2 separate regions of the Homo sapiens genome follow, and region 2 is linked to region 1. Evidence: promoter capture Hi-C in 16 types of primary human blood cells and fetal thymus (Javierre and others, 2016). All regions are on one chromosome and are shown on one strand. The core of a region is centred on a gene start or on the middle of the fragment in contact, and the rest is flanking DNA. Distances in the headings are between cores, read along the strand shown. Region 1 holds the start of ILF2 (interleukin enhancer binding factor 2). Region 2 overlaps SLC27A3 (solute carrier family 27 member 3).

The links. Contacts are between HindIII fragments. The CHiCAGO score rates a contact against its expected background, and 5 or more counts as called.
Region 2: a fragment that was not itself captured here is called in contact with the fragment with the promoter of ILF2 in region 1 in 10 of 17 cell types (endothelial precursors, M0 macrophages, M2 macrophages and 7 more); the score reaches 9.8 in endothelial precursors.

The regions. Positions count from the first base shown.
Region 1 is chr1:153,669,223-153,673,155 of GRCh38, reverse strand. ILF2 (interleukin enhancer binding factor 2) reads left to right here and starts at 2,163. Exons shown (of 14, transcript NM_004515.4): 1 at 2,163-2,238; 2 at 2,926-2,985; 3 at 3,278-3,320. The coding sequence starts at 2,234. TRX-CAT1-1 (tRNA-iMet (anticodon CAT) 1-1) reads right to left here and starts at 1,906; the gene lies at 1,835-1,906. RefSeq lists enhancers at 894-943, 954-1,033, 1,584-1,723 and a silencer at 1,764-2,143. The HindIII fragment of the contact is 12,664 bases long and covers 1-3,933 here.
Region 2 is chr1:153,777,631-153,781,563 of GRCh38, reverse strand. It overlaps SLC27A3 (solute carrier family 27 member 3), which reads right to left. Exons shown (of 10, transcript NM_024330.4): 4 at 3,679-3,803; 5 at 3,209-3,403; 6 at 3,011-3,101; 7 at 2,679-2,877; 8 at 2,353-2,450; 9 at 2,091-2,221; 10 at 1,407-1,738. The coding sequence ends at 1,562. Among named protein-coding and RNA genes, the nearest start is that of SLC27A3, 4.2 kb to the right of the region's middle. The HindIII fragment of the contact is 1,934 bases long and covers 692-2,625 here.

The DNA.
Region 1 (3,933 bases), core at 914-3,413:
ACGCATTGCACTCCAGCCTGGGCAACAAGAGCGAAACTCTGTCTCAAAAAAAACAAAAACAAAAACAAAAACAAAAACAAAAACAAAAACAAAACAAAGACTAGCCTTGACAACATATAAAGTACCCCATCTCTACAAAAATAAATAAATAAGTAAGCCCGGGGCCAAAGGAGGTGGCTCACACCTGTAATCCCAGCACTTTAGGAGACAGAGGCAGGAGGATCACCTGAGGTCAGGAGTTTGAGACCAGTCTGGCCAACATGGTGAAACCCCATGTCTACTAAAAATACAAAAATTAGCTGGGCAGGGCCGGGCATGGTGGCTCACGTCTGTAATCCCAGCACTTTGGGAGGCCGAGGCGGGCAGATCACTAGATCAAGAGATGGTGACCATCCTCGCTAACACCGCGAAACCCCGTCTCTACTAAAAATACAAAAAAAAAAAAATTAGCTGGGCGTGGTGGCGGGCGCCTGTAGTCCCAGCTACTCGGGAGGCTGAGGCAGGAGAATCGCTTGAACCGGGGAGGCGGAGGTTGCAGTGAGCTGAAATAGCGCCACTGCACTGCAGCCTGGGAGACTCCATCTCAAAAAAAAAAATAAAATTAGCTCGGAGTGGTGTGGCCTGTGCCTTTGAGTAGTCCCAACTACTAGGGAGGCCGAAATGGGAGAGTCTCTTGAGGCCAGGAGGTTGAGGCTGCAGTGAGCTATGATGGTGCACCACTGCACTCCAGCCTGGGCAACAGAGTGAGACCCTGTGTCTAAATAAAATGAAATAATAGAAGAGAGGGTAAGAGACAAAGAGATTACTGGGGGAAAAGTCTAACCCGTCTTTATTTGGAGTTCAGGAACGAGGGAAATAATAGGTAAAACTAATACTTGAAGAGATAATAGCTGATAAATTTAATAAATGGACGACAAACCTGAAGCCATTGATTCAAGAAGCTCAACAAACCTCAAGTAAGATTTTTTTTTTTTTAAACGGAGTCTCCCTCTATCGCCCAGGCTGGGGTGCAGTGGCGCCATCTCAGCTCACTGCAACCTCCGCCTCCCGGATTCAAGAGATTCTCCTGCCTCAGCCTCCTGAGTAACTGGAATTACAGGCGCCCGCCAGCACGCCGGCTAATTTTTGTATTTTTAGTAGAGACGGAGTTTCACCATGTTGGCCAGGCTGATCTCGAACTCCTGACCTCGGGTGATCCACCCGTCTCGGCCTCCCACAGTGCTGGGTGGCCACAAGCCACCGCACTCGGTCCGCTTTTTGTTTGCTTGTTTTTTAAAAATTAATAATATTTATTTTAATCTGGATGGTGGTTACGTGGCCAGAATACGTTTAGACTTAAGATGTTTACGTTCTGCTGTAGTAAATTAAATATCGAAAAAGTACTTATGGAAGGGAGGTAGGTGAGGGATAAAAGTCTACAAGTTGGGTTCAGTGTATACTGCTCGGGTGATGAGTGCACCAAAATCTCACAAATCACCACTAAAGAATTTATGTAACCAAGCTGGGCGCTGTGGCTCACGCCGGTAATCCCAGCACTTTCGGAAGCTGAGGCGGGTGGATCACCTGTTTCCATGGACATGGAAAACCATGTTTTCCACACTAATTCAATCAATATACTCCTCTCCTATCTAAAACCTGTTTCTCCTGCTTCGAGTTTGTAGACGTGCAGTGTTCATAGTTGCCTAAACTCCCTTTTCCCCATCAACTTCAACTGCTAGTGGCAAAAATAGCTGATATTGGTTGCATTTTTGAGGTAGGAAAATTGGCAAGATATTTTCCTTCACTAAAGAAACGTAGATTACGTATGCCGTACAGGGCAATGAAAAAACTCCGATAGCAGAGGATGGTTTCGATCCATCGACCTCTGGGTTATGGGCCCAGCACGCTTCCGCTGCGCCACTCTGCTATCTAGAACTAAAATTTCTCATGATTGTTATAGAACACTACGTAGTCGTTGTCCTGACTTCTTTAGTGCCACCTAATGTCTGATCAAAAATTCGTCATTACTATAGAACCAGTTCTTATTGGCTAGTTCCTGACACAGTAGGCGTTTTTTATTGGTTCATAAGCCCGGTTTGACAAAGTAAGCCAATAGGCATAAGCGATGGGGTAAGGCGGGAGCCAATCGCACCGGGTTTTATTGGGACACGCCGGCAAGACGCCTCTTCAGTTGTCTGCTACTCAGAGGAAGGGGCGGTTGGTGCGGCCTCCATTGTTCGTGTTTTAAGGCGCCATGAGGTAAGTGGGTCGAAGCGGTCGAAAGGTTTCAGGTATTCGACGGAAAACTTTGTGAACGTGGGCCGAAAGAAGTCGGAGTATCAGAAAGGGCCATGTATCCGGGGGCTGGCCAAAAACCTGAGAACTCCTGGTCTAGGATAGTGGGAGAGATGGAGGCCGGTAGAGGCGGGGAAACTTGGGCCCGGGATGGGGTTCGGGCCCAGGAGTGGGGAGGGGGGTTCGACACCTTTGTCTCTGAAGGGTTGCGATGAGGGGGTGTCCTCAAGCCCCTGGAGGAGCTCCCCACCTTTCCCCCGCCCCCGTCATCCGGGCTGAGAATGCTGGAGCGAGCCGCATTCATCCTCAGTGCGAAGGCCTTGACATTAGGACACGCCCGATAAATGTGTACCTTAGTGAAGAAATGAGCAATCTTTAGCCTCCGAAGTATTAGGATTCGTGTGGCCCAGGATTATGGGTTATTAAGTGTAGGGCTCACTGAGCCCCATCATTACTTGATGGGGGTTGGATTAACTTAGAGGAGGTTATGGGGGTGTAACTGGGCACCATTTGGAATGGGGACAAGTGTAAGTGTGAGTGGGGTCTCTTGCCTACCGTTGGGAGGTTCCGAGGGATGAAAGTAGCCAACCTAAGATGATATGGCCGGTGGGTATTCCTTCAATGAGGTCAAAATAAAATCTGCATTTCTAGGGGTGACAGAGGCCGTGGTCGTGGTGGGCGCTTTGGTTCCAGAGGAGGCCCAGGAGGAGGGTGAGTACCAGCTTTTAGCATCTCTGCACTTGGTTGTTAGTTTCTGCTTGTCATCTAAATAGGAGTTTTAGAGTAGACTAATGTCACTTGGTTTTGCGAGAGCCAACTGTGGTCTTTTCCTGCACTCCTGTTAAATGAATTTGGCCCCACTATGCTAAGAATGATTCTTTCCCTCCCCGGAGACTTTGTCACTCATTCTGAGGACTGACATGTTTTCAAAATTGTTGGCGTGTTATTTACATCTCGCTTGATTCCTACCTAGGGAATAATTTGGCTGTTTTTCATGTTTTAGGTTCAGGCCCTTTGTACCACATATCCCATTTGACTTCTATTTGGTGAGTACCTTGGGTTAATGATACACATTTTCTGGTCACTGTTGAAATGGAGCCCAGTATCTCCCAGTTAATGAAGTTAGATGGTGGTTGAAGAGGGCAGACACAGTGCCTCACGCCTGTAATCTCAGCACTTTGGGAGGCCGAGGCAGATGGATTACCTGAAGGTCAGGAGTTTGAGACTAGCCTGGCCAATATGGTGAAACCCCGTCTCTACTAAAAATAAAAAAGTTGGCTGGGCATGTGTCTAATCCCAGCTACTTGGGAGGCTGAAGCAGGAGAATTGCTTGAACCCGGGACGCGGAGGTTGCAGTGAACCAAGATGGCACCACTACAAAAAAAAAAAGATGGTTGAAATAGGGAGGGAAAGTGATTTGTGAAAAGATTTGGGGTTTTGAGTCAACTGTGTGTTGCTTTACATACAGAAACAGTGTAAGCATGGTGGGGAGAATAATTCCTTGGCTACTGTTGGCATTAAACATGATTATAATCTTTGTTCTGAACAAGTAATTGTATTTATGGTATATCTGTTACTATAAAGATAGTGATAGCTTAAATTATGGCTATTCCAGCTTTTATCCTTGTTTGAACTTTTTATTTTTTTTGAGACAGTCTC
Region 2 (3,933 bases), core at 409-2,908, 110 kb before region 1:
CTAAAGATAGAAAAAAAAATTAGCCGGATGTGGTGGCGTGTGCCTGCAATCCCAGCTACTCGGGAGGCTGAGGCAGGAGAATTGCTTGAACCTGGGAGGTAGAGGTTGCAGTGAGCCGAGATTGCACCATTGCACTCCAGCCTGGGCTACAGGGCGAGACTCCGTCTCCAGAAAAAAAAAAAGCTTGGTGTGAGGTTCTACGATGGGGGAGGTGGCCACTCAGCTCGCAGGTCTGGGAAATCTGGGCTGAGTTAAGGTGTGGGAGAGCAGCTGCAGGAGGTGCCCCACTGCCAGCCAACACAGGCTGCCTACCCGCCCTACCCCCAGGCACACCCAAACTATTGTACTCCTCCTGGGGCAGATTGGAGAGGTGCACAGAATGAGTTAAGTTCCACATTTATTGGTCTACGCATGAAGTTTTCCCCTGCACCTTAGCGTGTGCCTTACCTAGTCTGTCAGTGAGGCTGCACCGGGCTTGCTGGTGGAAGGGGGCAAGTTGTAAAGTTTTGGAACAGGAGGGCCCGCAATAGAGACCCAAGTGTGCCAGTAGGGCATGTCCCCTGACCTCTCATGTTGGGGAGAGGGGCTAGAAGGGGAAAGGCAAAGTAGCATAAAATTTCAAGGACCCACAGCTCAAAACAGAGGGGGACTGTAGTTCCTAGGAGAAGCAGGAGCTTCATCATTTCAAGCTTTTAGATGATGAACTTTCTGGACACCTCATTTGGGGATCGAGAGGCCTTTGTCCTTTTGATTCCCACCATCCCTCCTGCCACCACATGCACTCTGAGCCTCACTCCATGGAGGGGCTTCCGTCAAACTCTCCTGCAGTACCGGAGGGTCCCCCCTGGGGACTGCTCCTTCTGGGAATGTCTGACAGTCACCAGGTAGGAGTAGGAACATCTGGAGGCAGGGGCACCCCACTCTTCCCCCTCAAAGATTGGCTTCTCAGAGACAGCTGCGAGGCAGAGGGATATCTTGAGCATCCTTTCCCCCACAGTCAAACACTTGTTTGGGCTGGTTAAGACTCTTCCCCAGGCCCGGCCACACCTGATTCTGGGGGAGCAGTTTGGGCTGGCTGCCGGAGGTGGCATTTCTGTGTGCTTCTGTCCACCTCTGCCCTTTGAGCCGACCCCTCGGGTCCTCCAGTTCCCAAGACAGAGCAGTGGGAGCCTGGCACTCGGAGAGTAAAACTGGGGCGAGCTACACAGGAGCACAGACAAACATCAGTCACCAGAGGTTCTCCAAGGACGAAGGTCACACAGGGTCTCCTGAGAGGAAAACACCAAGGTCCAGATACGGGGCTCTGGCCCACAGCCAGTCAGGGCAGGAATGTGGGGCCTGTGGCTCCACGCCAGGAGAAAACTCTCAAGGAAAAAGCAGTTCCACAGAGAGATAATGACAGATACTGTAGGTCAGAGACAGCTGGATCAGCTCCAGCCACATTTATTACAAAATAGTGACCGCAGTTCTGGTATAGAAAAGATCCCTGACAGCCCAGTACACCTGCAACGGCCCCCACCCCACAGAGTTCCTCTCTCAGGTGCCTCAGGTGTGGAAGTTCTCAGATTCGAAGGTTTCCTGCCAGGAGGGCGCTGTACCGGGCAGTTGTGAGGGGCAGGTAGGCACCTACAGCCTGGTCCAGAACGTACAGTGGGTCAGACAGGGTGCTGGGGTCGAAGCCCTCATTTGCCATCCGAACTTTCTGCTGTTTGAAGGTCTCTGTGGTGGCCAAAGACTCCTGGGGACAGGAGGGTCAGGGATTTGGAGGGAAGGGGACTCTGCCCACGTGGTTCAGGGGAGTTGCCTGAATTTTGTTAAGGAGCAAGTCTTGGGAAAGGGAGTGTGAGGTCAAGGTTTAGGGGAGGAGGTGACAGGGAGGAGAAAGAGCCAGGCCAGAAGAAGGCAGGGATAAGGAAAGAAGTGGGGTGAAGAGCTTGTGTCTCCGTGTTTTTTCTCTTCACGGAGTGTATTACGTTGGGGGTCCCTTTGTGGAGTTTGGGAGCCATCAAACTCCTAAGTTGATACACGGGGTGGATATGTGGGGTGAGGATATATGGGGTGAGGGGCCGGCGGGGGAAGTGGCCGGTTACCTGGAGCCTGAGGAATCGGGGCCGGGCATAAGGTGGCAAGTTCTCAGACACGTGGGTGTAGAGCTGCATAAGGTCCAAAGCGTGGGGGGGACGCAGAACTAGGGCTGCCATTCCAGCCCTGCCTTCATGCCCTGGTGGGTGTGGGAGACAGAGTAAGCCCCTCCATGGCTGACCACCACGAAGGCCTCGTGCTCCCTGCGCCCAAGTACTACCAATTCGGGGTGGTGGCTGGGTGCCTCCCCCACCTTCCATGCCTAGGCACCTGGCACAGTGACTCCATAGACGTTCACCTCCTGAAGAAAATCTAGGGCCTCGAAGACCTCTGCCACCTCGGTTGTGGCCACATTCTCCCCCTTCCACCTGTCAGAGAGCAGAGATCTGAAACTGGGAGTCAGGGGTCAGGGCCTTATGGGCTTGGTGGGGAGATGAGGTCAGAGGTCAGTGTCACAGGGATGAAATGGTGAGATCTGAGAATGAGAGATTAGCTTAGGACCCAGGTTGAGGTGGCAGATTAGAGAGTTGAGGTTCAGAAGCTTTGGATCACAGAGATCAGATGTCCAGGATGAAAAACCAGTTATGGACAGATACCTGAAGGTGTCTCCAGTACGATCATGGAAGCGGAGAAAACCTTGGTCATCGCAGACCAGCAGGTCCCCAGTGTTGAAGAAAACATCCCCAGGCCGGAAGACATCCTTTAGCAACTTCCCCTGGGCCAGCTCTGGCCCGCCAGCATAGCCCAGGAATGGGGACTGCTGGCTTACCGGGGCCACCAGCAGCCCTGGCTCACCTGGCAGAGTCACCAGGGTCAGGAGTGGTGTCACCTTTCCCAGAGCCTTCTGCCCCCATCCACCCCAGTCTCCAATTCCAGTCCTCCTGTGCCAGCTTCAGCACCCCGCCCACCCCACCAGAACACCACCAACCTGGAGATGTGGCCATACAGTGCCCCTGGGGGTCCCGAATTGGCTCTCCTGTGGTGACATCATAGCGAATCAAGGAGAAGGGGAAGATATGCTGGGGAAAGGGAGACCTGGGTACTGGATCATTGCAGTCACATGAGCCCCCTCTCCTGCCAGCCCTCTGCTGTTCCACGGGTTTTCAGTTTCCTCTCTGCCCCTCACCTTGTAAAGCCAGGAAGCACGCCCCACAGCGCCCCGCTGTCCTGTGTAGTTGATGGTGGCCACGTTGCCCTCTGTCAGTCCATATGTCTCCAGCACCTGCAGGGGCCCGAAGCGCCGCACAAAACGCTCCCAGGTATCTGGGCGCAGCCCGCTGCCCACTGCCAGCCGGACCTTATGGCCACGTTCTGCCTTGCTCTGAGATGAGTGGGAGAGGGGCCGGAGCTTCAGCATCAAGATGCCCGCTCCCGGAAGTGAATTCCTGTTCCCCATTCCCCAGAACCCCCTCCTACTGTGACCTCCTTCAGAGGCCGTAAGCATCAGATGGCCTAGGCCATCTCTGGCTCCTTATCTTACACTGCCATTTTCTTCTTGCTGCTTCTCCCTCCAACTCCCTGTCTCCTGTCAACTGTCCTGCTCCCCGTGAGCTAGCCCTGTGTCAGCAGCTCTGCCCAGGATCTGTGCCCACGCACCGGGGGCTGGTTGACAAGGTATCGGCACAGCTCCCCAATGTACTGGAACACCGTCACCCTGTGCTGCTGGCAATCTTCCCAGAACTGACCAGCCGAGAACTTGGATTTCAGCACCACTGTGGCCCCTGCCAGAAGTGGGCAGGGGGGAAGAAGGGAGGTAAGATTAGGAGCAGAGTGGGGAGCCCAAGCCCCTCTTTCCAGACCCCAGCCATCACTGTAGTCTTTCCCTGGGAAGGGCCCACTGTGGGAGTCACA